Regions from separate parts of the Homo sapiens genome. Here regions 2, 3, 4 and 5 are each linked to region 1. Evidence: promoter capture Hi-C in 16 types of primary human blood cells and fetal thymus (Javierre and others, 2016). All regions are on one chromosome and are shown on one strand. Each heading gives the region's core, a stretch centred on a gene start or on the middle of the fragment in contact. The rest is flanking DNA. Distances are from core to core; before and after follow the strand shown. Region 1 holds the start of CT75 (cancer/testis associated transcript 75). Region 2 overlaps SGPP2 (sphingosine-1-phosphate phosphatase 2). Region 3 overlaps FARSB (phenylalanyl-tRNA synthetase subunit beta). Region 4 overlaps SGPP2 (sphingosine-1-phosphate phosphatase 2). Region 5 overlaps SGPP2 (sphingosine-1-phosphate phosphatase 2).

Evidence for each region. Contacts are between HindIII fragments. The CHiCAGO score rates a contact against its expected background, and 5 or more counts as called.
Region 2: a fragment that was not itself captured here is called in contact with the fragment with the promoter of CT75 in region 1 in 2 of 17 cell types (M0 macrophages and M1 macrophages); the score reaches 6.3 in M0 macrophages.
Region 3: a contact is called between a fragment that was not itself captured here and the fragment with the promoter of CT75 in region 1, in 10 of 17 cell types (M0 macrophages, M1 macrophages, M2 macrophages and 7 more). The highest score is 21.2, in M0 macrophages.
Region 4: a contact is called between a fragment that was not itself captured here and the fragment with the promoter of CT75 in region 1, in 8 of 17 cell types (M0 macrophages, M2 macrophages, M1 macrophages and 5 more). The highest score is 14.2, in M0 macrophages.
Region 5: a fragment that was not itself captured here is called in contact with the fragment with the promoter of CT75 in region 1 in 4 of 17 cell types (M1 macrophages, activated CD4 T cells, monocytes and 1 more); the score reaches 6.2 in M1 macrophages.

The regions. Positions count from the first base shown.
Region 1 is chr2:222,317,039-222,319,816 of GRCh38, forward strand. CT75 (cancer/testis associated transcript 75) reads left to right here and starts at 1,433. Exons shown (of 4, transcript NR_136642.1): 1 at 1,433-2,332. RNF228 (ring finger protein 228) reads right to left here. Exons shown (of 1, transcript NM_001395871.1): 1 at 1-2,778. The coding sequence ends at 1,990. RefSeq lists enhancers at 1,126-1,721, 1,498-1,547 and a silencer at 2,018-2,347. The HindIII fragment of the contact is 3,961 bases long and covers 1,189-2,778 here.
Region 2 is chr2:222,526,557-222,529,256 of GRCh38, forward strand. All of the region lies in intron 4 of SGPP2 (sphingosine-1-phosphate phosphatase 2), which reads left to right. Among named protein-coding and RNA genes, the nearest start is that of SGPP2, 100 kb to the left of the region's middle. The HindIII fragment of the contact is 654 bases long and covers 939-1,592 here.
Region 3 is chr2:222,567,170-222,569,914 of GRCh38, forward strand. It overlaps FARSB (phenylalanyl-tRNA synthetase subunit beta), which reads right to left. Exons shown (of 17, transcript NM_005687.5): 17 at 1-2,745. Among named protein-coding and RNA genes, the nearest start is that of FARSB, 88 kb to the right of the region's middle. The HindIII fragment of the contact is 4,865 bases long and covers 1-2,745 here.
Region 4 is chr2:222,548,713-222,551,416 of GRCh38, forward strand. All of the region lies in intron 4 of SGPP2 (sphingosine-1-phosphate phosphatase 2), which reads left to right. Among named protein-coding and RNA genes, the nearest start is that of FARSB, 110 kb to the right of the region's middle. The HindIII fragment of the contact is 928 bases long and covers 911-1,838 here.
Region 5 is chr2:222,508,806-222,511,505 of GRCh38, forward strand. All of the region lies in intron 2 of SGPP2 (sphingosine-1-phosphate phosphatase 2), which reads left to right. Among named protein-coding and RNA genes, the nearest start is that of SGPP2, 86 kb to the left of the region's middle. The HindIII fragment of the contact is 1,986 bases long and covers 409-2,394 here.

The sequences.
Region 1 (2,778 bases), core at 183-2,682:
GCCTTCCAGGGTCATTATTCCTAGAAATAATCCCACTAAATGCCCATCTTAGCAACGCACATTTCCATGTGTGAGTTATTTCTCTCTCAGCCCCATTTAAAAATGTGAAATTTGGATTTAGAAGGGGACATGTATTTAAGGAAGAGAAGTGCCACACAAATAATGGAGCAATTTTACCATGAAATTAATGTCATGAAAATAGATATTTCTATAAATACCTCTTGTTTTTATTATTAAGACAATGCAGACATAAAACACTTCATACTGTAGTTTCTACATTGCAGCCAAACCACTTATCAATGGCCAATAAATTACTTCACTCCTATGATAGATACAAATGCTCGATTCAAGTTCAATTAATAGAATAGTGTCAGGATATCATGCAGACAGCTTGCATAAATACTCGAGGAATAATAGCATACCTTCAGTAGATTCTGTGATTTTTAAGCATGAAAACTTTGTCTTATTCCAAATTTCAAAAGATGGAATAAAGAATGTTTTCATATAAAATACATTTGGAACAGTTTTCCTTCTTAAAAAAAAAGGCATCTAACCCACTTGCAACATATACTGGCAATTCATCTTTGTAGTTACAAAATCAGATAGATATATATTCTTTTTCATCTCATGTGACTGTATGTGAACATTTCAGTAATTCCAACAATATCAAACAGCTAAATTCAAAATCATATAATACTTTCTAATAAGTGTATACGATATATATCTTTTGTAGCCAAAGGCAGAAAGACCTTCAGTTAGTTGATTTCATGTTTGGGCACTAGTTTATATTTTATCAGATAATTAAAAGTCATTAGTTATTTCACAGTATAAAATATTGAATCAATTACCAACAGGCTTTTATTTTCTGCTCCTAATTTCGAAATGTATTTGGACTCGAGGTATGGGAATAATGTCACTGCTTATCAAACAATTTTCTGGAAATCTTAATGCACAAAAATTTCCAGATTTATATATTCAAAAATAAATTATATGTTAAATGAAATTAAGAAAAAAAGGCGAGGGGAAGGAGAAAATCTAGTTTATATTCTGTGTGAATAGCTTTCAATATCTTCCAGGTGGGGGCAACCGTAAGCCACTTTTGAGAGAAGGGAGAACAGGCTCTTTAAGCTCCCTGAGTCTAGTTACAGAAGACTTCCTGGCAGTAACACCGTGAATAAAACAACCACAAGCTTCCAGGAGATGAGACTTCTAGGCTCTGCTCCAGACAACACCCGGCCATGGGCAACAGGGCCCACCGCCCTGGGCGCGCCGCAGCCTCGGCCACTCCGAGTCGGCTCCGATCGCGCACGCGCGCCGTGCACCTGCCCCATCGCGCCCAGCTGCTGCCTGAGCTCCGGGCACGCCCGCGCTGTGCCGGCGGGGAGTGTCCGTCACTCTCAGCGCTCAGGATCTCTCCCTTTCCAGGACCGCTAGGAAGCAGGAAATCCTTTTCCTCTCACGTTTACATCCCATTCATTCTTCCTCCGGGCAATTCAAGTCCATTCACAGCCGCCACAGATGCACGTGTGCACGCGCGCAGCTGCACCTTTAAAGAAACTCTCAAGTCCTGGCGGCCAGAAAACCAGCTTTCAGGCGGGGCGGTGGGGCTCCCCCTCCCCTTGCTTCGTCTCTGCAGATCTTTGTGCTCTAGGGAGGGATGGCCGCACATTCTGACGAGGACGAGGGTGGTGCATAACGCGGAGGTCAATTTTGCACAGTCCAGGCAAAAGAGACCCCCCCCCCCCACCAACATCCCTTCCTGTTCAGTTTCCCTCTCTGGCCCAGCGCGAAGGGCGAGGGGCGACAGAAGCCCGAGGGACAGAAAACCGAGGCTCCTCAGTGGCCGAGTTGGGAGAGAGTGTGAGTCCAGGAGAGCCCGGGGGCAGCAGGGAGAGGGTGCAGAAGCTCGAGCGCACCGAGCCAGAGGCCCCCTCTTCTCCCGCCACGCGGGGCTGGAGGTGCAGGCGCCGGTTCCGCGGCGTGGCCCGGCTATGTGTCGCTCCTCCGCGCGCCGCCCGCCGCAGCCCGTGCCCTCGGGCCGCCGCCGCCGCCGCTGCCCCCCGTCGAGCCCGCGGCCGCACCCTCGGGCCGATACTTGAGCCAGCAGATGACCCAGGTGACAACGACCGAGAAGAGTGCCAGGATGCTGGCCACCGACAGGCAGATGGGCCCCACGGGCGAGGGCGAGGGCGACCCGGTGGCCGGTGCCTCGCCAGGGGGCGCCCCGCCTCCGGGGGTTCCCCCGCCGCCGTAGTGGTTGACGAAGATGAGGCCGGTGAAGAGCAGCACCACCATGGAGAGGAAGGAGAAGACCACGCACACGCAGCCAGCGGTGAGCGCCGCGCGCTTGCAGTTCTGGCAGCTGTCGTAGGCGCCCGGGGCGCGCAGGCCGGGGCGGGCTCGAGGCCCGGGGGCCGCGTCCTCGGCAGGCGGCGGCGGCGGCGGCTGCGGTGGGGCGGGGGAGGGCGGCGGTGGCGGGGCCGGGGTGGGCGGCGGGGCAGCAGCGGGCGCGGGCAGGCGCGCGGGCAGCGGCGGGAGGCGGTCCTGGGGCAGCGGGTCGTGCGCTGCGCGCAAAGCCAGCGGGAAGGCCTCGGCTAGCTTGGTGTTGTTGGGCAGGCCGTGCACGCGGCTGTCGGGCAGCGGCGTGCGGTGGCGGCACACCGGGCACGCGATGGCGCCGGGCGGGCAGAGCCAGGGCGGCGGGCGCGGCGGGCGCTCAGGCGCGGCGGCAGCGGCGGCGGCGGCGGCGGCGCGGAGCTGCAGCTGGCTCAGGCACTC
Region 2 (2,700 bases), core at 16-2,515, 210 kb after region 1:
GGTTCTCTGGCATCTCTTTTTATCTGGGGCTACTGTTTAATTTCTGTAGGCTTTAATAAAATATGATCTTGGTAATGATAGACTGGATAAAGAAAATGTAGTACATATACATCATGGAATACTATGCAGCCATGAAAAGGAATGAGATCATGTCCTTTGACATGGATGAAGCTGGAAGCCATCATCCTCAGCAAACTAACACGGGAACAGAAAACCTAACACCACATGTTCTCACTCATAAATGGGAGTTGAACAGTGAAAACACATGGACACAGGGAGGGGAACAACACACACCATGGCCTGTTGGGAGGTTGGGGGTGAGGGGAGGAACTTAGAGGATGGTCAATAGGTGCAGCAAACCACCATGGCACACGTATACCTGTGTAACAAACCTGCATGTTCTGCACATGTATCTCGGAACTTAAAGTAAAATTTAAAAAAGAATGATCTCGAGAACTCGGGTTAAAGTTAAAATGAAAGTAAGCACGAGCATGTAGAGCTACAGAGATGAGTAAAGAGTACACAAAACCCACCTCAATAGAAACACAGCTACAGCTTTTTCTTTTTAAAGTGAGTTGTGGGGACAGTAAGCAGATATTTAGGGGAAGATAGATTAGGCCTGTCATCCAGATGCAAGGAATATTATATGCTTTTTTTAGACATAATGCAGTTGCACACTTAGTAGACAACAGAATAGTGTAAACATTTTTATATGCACTGAGAAACAAAAAAAAAATTGTGTGACTTGCTTGATTGTGATATTGACTTGATGGTGATGGTTTGGAACTGAACCCGCTGTGACTCTGAGTTAGGCCTGGATGTCACACTATGTTCATCCATTCATCTGTCAGTGAACACTTGGGCTCACCTTTAGGCTACTGTGAATAAGGCTTCTCTGAACATGGGGTTTCAAATATCTTCAGAGAGATTTTTTTAGAAGCTTCCCATGGGGTTTGAATATGCAGCTATGGTTGAGAGCCATTATAAAAGACATTCCCTAGAGATTGTGAGGGGCCCAGGGAAGGGGCACCGCCCCCTTTTGGGAGCATTTGTCCCAGAAGAAGCTGGAGCAAGAGGCCACAGCAACCATTGTCCCCAACCCCATCTGTTCTGTCAGGACCCAGGGCTTCTTTCATGCTCATAATTTTATTTCATAAAGATCTTAGACCCTGACTCAGGCTTAGGCCCAGGTACCAGTCAGGCTACAGGACCAGAGAATGGCCTAGGGTGCAATGATGAGTAATTTTTAGTAGAAGGGAACAGTTGGTTTTAATAGTAGGATAAGGTAGAATTATGGATTAGTTGCCTTTATTCAGCAGCAACTTAATCAGCTCCTACAGGCCCCTGGACTTGGAATGAGATCTGGGAGCTCTTGTGGTAAAGAAACCTATGCCACCCCTCAGGTGTCCAAGTCTACTGAAGGAGACAGATGTCTACACTGCTGATTACCTGACATGATGATATAGTTAGGATGGAATAACTGGATTGAGCCAACTATGATAGCGTGCCCCTTCCCTGGGCCCCTCACAATCTCTAGGGAATGTCTTTTATAATGGTTCTCAACCATAGCTGCATATTCAAACCCCATGGGAAGCTTCTAAAAAAATCTCTCTGAAGATATTTGAAACCCCATGTTCAGAGAAGCCTTACTCACAGTAGCCTAAAGGTGAGCCCAAGTGTTCACTGACAGATGAATGGATGAACATAGTGTGACATCCAGGCCTAACTCAGAATCACAGCGGGTTCAGTTCCAAACCATCACCATCAAGTCAATATCACAATCAAGCAAGTCACACAATTTTTTTTTTGTTTCTCAGTGCATATAAAAATGTTTACACTATTCTGTTGTCTAGTAAGTGTGCAATTACATTATGTCTAAAAAAAAGCAATGTACATATAATATCTTAATTTAGAAATAATTTACTGCTAAAAAATGCTAACAATGATCTGGGCCTTCTGTGAGTCATAATGTTTTTGCTGGTGGAGGGTCTGGCTCAGTGTTGATGGCTGCTGACTGCGTAGGGTGGTCATTGCTGAAGGGTGGAGGGGCTGTGGCAAGTTTTGTTTTTGTTTTTGTTTTTGAGACATCTCAGTCTGTCACCTGGGCTGGAGTGCAGTGGTGAGATCTTGGCTCACTGCAATGTCTGCCTTCTAGATTCAAGCAATTCTCATACCTCGGCCTCCCGAGTAGCTGGGACTACAGGCATGCACCACCACATCTGGCTAATTTTTGTATTTTTATTAGAGACAGTGTCTCACTATGTTGCCCAGGCTTGTCTCAAATTCTTGGGCTCAAGCAATCATACCACCTCAGCCTCCCAAAGTGCTGGGATTACAGGCATGAGCCAGCGTGTCCTGTTTCTTAAAATAGACAACAATGAAGTTTGCCGCATCAATTGACTCTTCCTTTTAGGAAAGATTTCTTTGTAGAATGCCAATGCTGTTTTTTTCCTTATTTTTCTCCCCTTTACATATGCCAAATCATGTGATGATATTTGATAACCTTTTACCTGGAGGAGAACTTTCAAAATTAGAGTTAATTCTCTCAAACCCTGCAATTGCTTTATCCACTACGTTTATGTAATATTCTGTCCTTTCTTGTCATTTTAACAATGTTCACAGCATCTTCACCTGGAGTAGATTCCATCTGAAAAGATTACTTTCTTTGTTTATCCATAAAAAGCAACTCTTCATCCATTC
Region 3 (2,745 bases), core at 159-2,658, 250 kb after region 1:
GCCTCATCTCCAAAGACCATCACACTGGAGGTCAGAGGGTCAACATGAATTTGTGGGGATACATTCAGTCCATAATAATATACATAAAGTTATTCAAGGCCCTAATAACATAATAAGCCAGAACTTGGATATCAGATGGGTCAAAGGCTTTCAATGCTTAGGAGGCATATTCTGCTTAAGGCAATGGTGTCCCTTGAAGGCTATCTGTTTGCTTTTGGATAAAATGGACAGAAGGGCCAAAGTAAATACTCAAGTATTAGGGTTAGTGATGTTATATAAAACACCAAGCACAAATAGATTAAGATTGAGAAGCAAGATTGTGAGTAATGTTCTCTCTTACCAAGCTGATGAGCCCATCATTGCTGAGAGCAGGGGCAGTGGTTAGGCTGGCTGGTTTGTAGTAGATTACTCCTGTTTAAAATGTGAGAACAGTCATTCAACATGTTTTAAATTCAAAACACATCCTTTGACCTAGCGACTTCTACATCTAAGATGTAAGGTACTGGAATAATATATAGTTCAAGTACAAACGTCACATCAAAGAAATATCTAATGAACTCTATGCATCTCTGAATGTGTCTGTCAAATGTGGATATTTATACAGTCTTGCACCCATTAGGACTGGTTTTCCTTGGGGTCCTAAGCCAGTGCTATTTAGCAGGATAGGGGGTTCATTGGAGCAGTGTTTATAATTGCAAACAGTTGGAAACAACTGAATGTCCACCAACAAGGGAATAATTGAACAATTACGGACATCTGTACAATAGAATATTACCTCATTTAAAAGAATGAGATAGGTCTATAGGCACTGACCTGAAAAAATGGGGCATATTAAGTGAAATGTCATGAGATATATGTAAAATAAAAAACAAAACTTGTTGCAAACCAGTAAGTAGAGCATGACCCCCAAAAATGTGAGCAGGTGTGTGTGGCTGACTGTACAAATCAAGGAAAATGTCCAAACTAAGGAACAATACAGGCTAAATTGTTAACAGCAGTTAGTTACTTCAGGGAATCAGGAGGAAGAAAGGTAGATTAACTCAGTAAGGCCACAGTTTGCAGAGTTTTTTTAAAGTATTGGACTTAACAATTTTTAACTTTTTGTCTCCCATTATTTTTATATTTTTAAAAAGTGTAGAAAGTCCCATTATTTACTTTCGCATAAATAAGTAAATAATGCAAATCAGTGAGTGGTCTGTGGACTCCAAGTCACTCTTTTATAGTGTCTCAAACTCATTTATTGGCTATGTGACTTCTGAGTAAGTTATTGATCTCTCTGAAACTCAACTGTTTTCACCCTACACATCAGGGAGAATTCCTACTCTCATACCGTTATTAAACCAAAAAAATTAAAATGTGAAAAAAGATCAATTCAAAAATAATTTAAAAACAGAAGAGCAGGCTGGGCGCCTGTAATCCCAGCACTTTGGGAGGCAGAGGTGGACAGATCGCCTGAGGTCAGAAGTTCGAGACCAGCCTAGCTAACGTGGTGAAACCCCGTCTCTACTAAAAATACAAAAATTATCCAGGCATGGTGGCACACACCTGTAGTCCCAGCTACTCGGGAAGCTGAGGCAGGAGAATTGCTTGAACCCAGGAGGTGGAGGTTGCAGTGAGCCAAGATTGTGCCATTGCACTCCAGCCTGGGTGACAGAGCGAGACTCCGTCTAAAAAAACAAAAAACAAACAAAACTAGAAGAGCACTGCAGGACTGTGAGGCTGTAGTGGTAGAATTTAAGTTTTTTCTAAGCTAGAACAAAAATCAATTCCATTTAATTTTCACTTTAATACTAGAGCTCCCAGTTTTTACTAAGAAGGTGTGCATCTTCTGTAATAAAGGCTTTTGGCAGTACTCACAGACTGCCCTGGCTCCAGTTCAAATGCTTCACCAGGGACAAGTGTAAGATGATCTGGCTGCAGAGCCTCGACTCATGAGCTGGATTCGCTTCTTCCAATGCAGCCGACACTGTTTTTCTGCCTACCATTTCCTGCTTCCGAGGGCAGAAACATCTACATGATGCATGGAGTTGATCTTTCCCCTTTCATGCTGGGATATACAATTAGGCATTAGTGGGTTTTTCATTACAAGTAATTTTGGCCACCCCCAAAAATATCCAGGTGGGTAGCTGCTGACAGAACAAATGGTTCCACCTACTTCAACAAGGGCTATCATATGATGATCCATAAGCCATGATTTTAACTAGAGCGAACCTGAAACTAAGGGAGAATATATCATTAATAGCTGTGGACCAGTGAGCCACCTTGAGCACAACTGCCAATTCTACAGTTCAGGCTATTTCTCTAGGCATTTATCAACTGGTGTTATGTAGTTAAAATCAGTAAAATACTACATGTTACATTACATTCTTTTTCTCCCAGCTTTACAAAGGTATAACCTACACCTGAAGTACACCTACCACCTCAATTAAGATAAAATTTCCATCACCCCAAAAAGTTTTCTCTTAACCCACTGCAGTCAGTTCTCTTTCCTGAGGTCCTGCCGACCACCTGCTTTTGACTTTTTTAGACTCTCAGGTAAATAGAATTAAATAGAGTCTTTTGTGTCTCTTGCTTTCACTTAGCATACTGTTTTGAAATTCATTCATGTTGTTTTGAGGATCAGTAGTTCATTCCTTCTTATTGCTGAGAAGTATTTCATAGTATGGATATACTGCAATTTGTAACTACTATAAGTAACACTGTGAACACTTGCATAAAAATCTTTGGCCATATGGGTAAACCTAG
Region 4 (2,704 bases), core at 125-2,624, 230 kb after region 1:
TTTTTGAACTTATGCATTCACTCTTCTCCCCTATACATATGCTAATTACATGTAGGTTTCTCTCCGTAATCATTTATATTCATATTCATGAATAATGTTGCCTCCTCCTTGTGATTTGGCTGCTATTGAATCTCATCTGCATTATTCTCAGCAACTGATTTCATTTTGAGCTAGCATAGAAAAGAATAAATATTCTGAGTCTGTTAACTAGGAAACATTGACTGATCTATGACTAAAAGTTATTTTCTAGAGTAACTGCAGTGTTTTGGTTTGTTTCAGTTTGTTTTAATGTCAGTGTCTGCTTGCCTACAAAGCATTCGCAGCATCTGCAAAGAAGTGGGTCTTGGCTTTTACTCTGCTCCTGGCTTCAGCTTACTCTGTGAAGGCAGCCAAGGGCAGAGAAGTCCCTTCACATTCTCAGCAGGGGACCTGGCAGAGGGGAAGATGCCAGAATCATAGAGTTCTCAGCATAAATAGTTTCAAGATCTGAATGCATTCTTTCCTAACAATTGACTGAATGGGTTTGTTCTCTCCCTTTCTTTCTCACTAGCGCTAACCTTGTGTTGTGTTGGCCTGTTCAATAGCATTCTTCAGGGAAGATGTTTGGAGATAGAATGGAAATTTGTCGCAGTAAACTGCATATGGGAATGTGATGTAGGGTCAGAATTAATAAATGCTGGGAGTTTTCAGGTTTAGGGTCTGCTGTTGAGATACCCAGTGATGTTCACTAAAAAAAGGAGTGTTTCTGTTTGGCTAAGAATGAAAACACTCTATTTTATGTGTTTATATAAGCATTTACTTTTAAAATTTGTTCTGATGCTTAGGGTAGCTCTATTAGCATTCTTTTCTACACACTGGAGCTTGTCTGCCTCTATTATTGTTTCCTGTAATGAGAATATAATAAAGCTCAAGCTTTTACCTAAATATCAAGTTTTATAACTGAAAATGAAAATAGATTAAAAAATCAAAGCGATTTAGAACTTTCTGCATTTGAACGTTGGAAAATGTTAGTTTTGTGTAATGATTCCTTTTTTTTTCCAAATAATTTAAAAGGATACATATAAACCTTGGATGGCAAACTGAATTAAAGGTTGACTGTATTTCAAACAATGCAATCCATAGGGTAAGGCTGGAAACACATCTTGTATGCTTTTTCTTTTCTTTTCTTTTCTTTTTTTTTTTTTTGAGACAGTCTCACTCTGTCACCCGGGCTGAATACAGTGGCACAATCTCAGCTCATTGCAACCTCCACCTCCCGGGTTCAAGCAATTCCCCTGCCTCAGCCTCCTGAGTAGCTGGAACTACAGGCACGCGCCACCACGTCTGGTTAATTTTTTTGTATTTTTTGGTAGAGACAGGGTTTCACCATATTGGCCAGACTGGTCCTGAACTCGTGACCTCGTGATCCACCCGCCTCGGCCTCCCAAAGTGCTGGGATTACAGGCATGAGCCACCGCACCCAGCCTGTATGCCTTTATTTTAAAAGTTACTTGGATCATGGAGGAATGGTATATTGCTTATCATATAGATTCTTAGGGATATTTCTTTTTTTGGCATGATGTGAAAATTATAAACAATCATTTCTAGTTTAGTCTGTTTTGAAACACTTTGATTTTCACATTCTGATTTTTTTCCTCCTTGATTTCATTTTATTATAATAAAAATAACAGGTATTGACTAGAAAATTTGGAAGATCCTGGAGTATAGAGAAGATAATAGTCATCTGTAATGTCACAACACAGAGAATAAATTACTCTTAACATTTTTATTTCCTTCTGACATTTTATCCATGCTTACAAGTATATATTTATATAAAATTAGGATCATACTTTCTGTAAAGCTTGTATTCTGTTTAAAACATCTCACTTATGGTTACCTTGAAACCATAGAAAATGAGGTTGCAGAAATTTGTCTTTTCACATGGAAAATGTTCCTGCTATATTATTAAATAAGGCAGCGTGGTTTTTATCTCATTTTTGGTGTAAGCAGCATAATATGCTTGATTTATTGTTCTAGAGTCTTTCTTATTATGATGTATGTTCCATACTTTCTGCATTTTTGCTTGTTTCTGATGTTTCTGTAATGGAGCATGTGTTACTTTTTGGACTTAAATGGCATGAGCTGAAATAACCCAACAAGAACCAAACAGGAATCATCCCTGTATGTAAACTTCATGAGCAGCCTTATTATCGTCTCTGGTTATTTTCTTAGAATCAATTCCTAGGAGTGGAATCACTGGGTCTAGGTGTTTGAATATGCTGTATATTTTGTATACTTTGTAGTCTAGTTATACTTCTCTATGGGAAGGAGTTTTACATTTGTTCTTTGCAAAGTAAAGAATACTTATTCTCACCATTTTTGCTCTCATGTCTTTCCCTTATCATGCCTTTTGCACCATTCTCTTTACCTGTCTTCCATATATTTCTTATGTTCCCTATCAACCATCTGCACTCTTTCCTCTCTTCTCCCTATCCCTCAAATCCACCCGTTCAGGACAGTTATCCCTATTTTTTCCCCTCTGTTACACAGTCATCTGCCCTATAGCTTGTCCTTGCTGTCCTGTAGAACCGTGAACCGTTTTCCCTCTGGCCTCACATACTGTGCCAAGCACTATGCAGCTCCAAAGAAGTAACCTCCTAACTTTGAATATGCAAAAAAATAAAAATAAAAAGAACAGATCCAGTTCAGAGACAGATATTTTGTG
Region 5 (2,700 bases), core at 152-2,651, 190 kb after region 1:
TTATCTTCTATGATTTATGGTGCTTGCTTTGTTTTGGTGGTTTAGACATGAGTAGCACTGTACTAGTTTGAAATTAAAATTGCTTCTCCCAGCGTTACACACACACACATCACATCCAGCAAAAAAAGCAAAAAAGCTCTGAATTTAAAAAATAAAAATAATGCCAGAAGTATGAGTGGCTATTCACCAGTTGGAAATAGCTTTTCACACTGGATGGTAAACAGTAGCCTTTAGAGTGTTTCCAAATAACCATCACCAAGAATTGCTTTTAATTCACTCCCAGACGCTAAATAGGAGACCACAGAGCACTTTGTATTCCAAGGAGAAAAAAAAAAGACTGAACATTGAATAGACAAAAACACAATCTAGTGCAGTCAATCTCTTTTTTGTAAGACTGTTGATTTGAGAAGCTTCCATGATGACCCAACATAAAGAAGAGGTGAATGTTTGGGGTGATGGGTGTCCCAGTTGTCCTGGTTTGATCATTACACATTGTATGCATGTGTCAGAATATCACATGTCCCCCCAAAAGATGTATAACTATTATGTATTAACAAAAAAAAATCAGTATAATTGTTATGACATATAATGATATACTAATTTTGATAAGAGCAATATTTTAGGCATTAATAAATATAATGTAGCTTTTAAAGAAAGCCTCCAAAGCTAAAAGTTGTTCTGAAAATGAATCCTGTGTACTTATGGTTGTGAGTAGTGGATTTTCAGCAGCTCTCTGGTATGTACTCACTTCAGTGCCCTGTGGACGGGCAGAATTGAACAGGATTTTTGAAGAAAAGACTATTAATAGTTCTAATAGTTTGCTTCTTCTTCTATTCTGAAATCAATATGTGAAGGCATTGCAATAACATTTTGGAACAAGAGACTTCAAGAACACATAGAAAAGGTACACCAGGACTTATCTTGATGTCTCATTTCTCTTTCTTTTTAAAATTGAGATATAATCCACATATGATAATAGTCAACCTTTTAAAGTATACAATTCAGCATATTCACAGAGTTGTGTAACCATCACCACTATCTCACTTCAGAACATTTTTACCCCCTGAAAAGGAACCCCAATATCCATTAGCACACACTACCGTAGGCAGTGGGGCTAATTTACTTTCTATCTCTATGGATTTGCCTCTTCTGAACATTTCATGTAAATGGAATCATACAATGTGTGTCCTTCGTGTTTGACTTCTGATTTCACTCAGCATTACTGTGTTCACCAGTACTTTCTTTCTTTCTATGGCCAAATAATATTCCATTGTAAATATATAGCACAGTTTGTTTATCTGCCTATCAGTCGATGGACATTTGGGTTGTTTAAACTTTTTGGAAACTGAGAAGAATGAGGCTACCAAATGCTAACAACATTTACATACAAGTTCCAGTGAGGACACATGCTTTCCATTCTCTTAGGGATACACCTAGGAGTGGAATGGATGAGTGTCTGGTGTCTGTTTATCCAAGTCATCTTACTGGTAAGCTGAGAAAAAAAGGGAATGAGATGCATTTGGATAAATTAAGAAACAGGATAGGTACGTACTGGTAGAGAGGCTGTGGTCTTTGGGTTACAGCTCATTGTTCTCTTGCCTCCAACAGTCAATGACATAACCAGTTCCTGACTTTTTGGAAACAAACCCGTAGATAGACTGTAAATCCCAGCAGTTTGCAGTGTTTCTACCCCATGAGACATGAGGAATAATCATATGCTCCTGTTAGTTAACAGCACATCACTTTTGCTATTTCTCCATGGTGGAGGGGGCTATGAGTGTAGCCAAGGGAAGGAAAAAAGATATTGGGATCTTTCAATTTTTTTTAATATGGTGGGTGTAATTTGAAAAGAGCCTCTTGGTGCTCCGTTCATCCTGCAGAGGACTTAGGTTTTATTATGATCATATGGAGCCTTTGCTCTTTTCAGATGAGGGTATTTTGCGGGGATGAAGACAAACAGGGGCAGCTCCGTAGTGTATACAAAAATGTAAACAAAAGTGTAAAACAGTTCATCATGTCCTGTTTTCCTTCAGGGAATGGAAGATGTTAACAGAGAGAAAAGTTTGAAGGCAGACATTCAGAAGAAGCTAGGAGGAGAAGCGTCTTATATTAATGTGGGCCAAAAATGGAAGTGTGGCTTGGCTTTTTAAAATCCTGTGGCTGGTTTACTAGTAATAATGTTATTTCAAAATATTTTGTTTTCAAAATTATTTAGGTGTTATTTATGCTAGTGTAAAGAATAAAGTCTGGCTAATTGGAAATGTGTTAGACATGGTACACACTGTCATTTTTTACTGTAATAACCAGAAAGGGCCACTACACTAAGAGAAAAAGTGCCGTTTTCTCTGCCGTCCCCATATGAGCCCAGCCATCCAGAACAGAGCCCATGCTGGAAGCTTTTCCACACTGTAAGGACAAGTTTCATATTGACCGCATTGGTTCCCTGGAAAACCTTTTGTCTGCCTGGGGTGAATGGTCGACTATCCAGAGAACCAGATTTTCTTTCTATCTATATATTACATTTATCCTGCATTCAGAGCAGAAGAAGAAAATAGGCTAATTCCCCTTCGTGAAAACCTACGGGACCTCCATGCCATCCTTCAATACCATGTGGGGGCCCCTAGCCAGTTTACTAAGGTGTTAATGGTCTGTAATTACTTCCCGTGTTGCCTCCTTATGGGTTTTTGCTTTCATGCACAG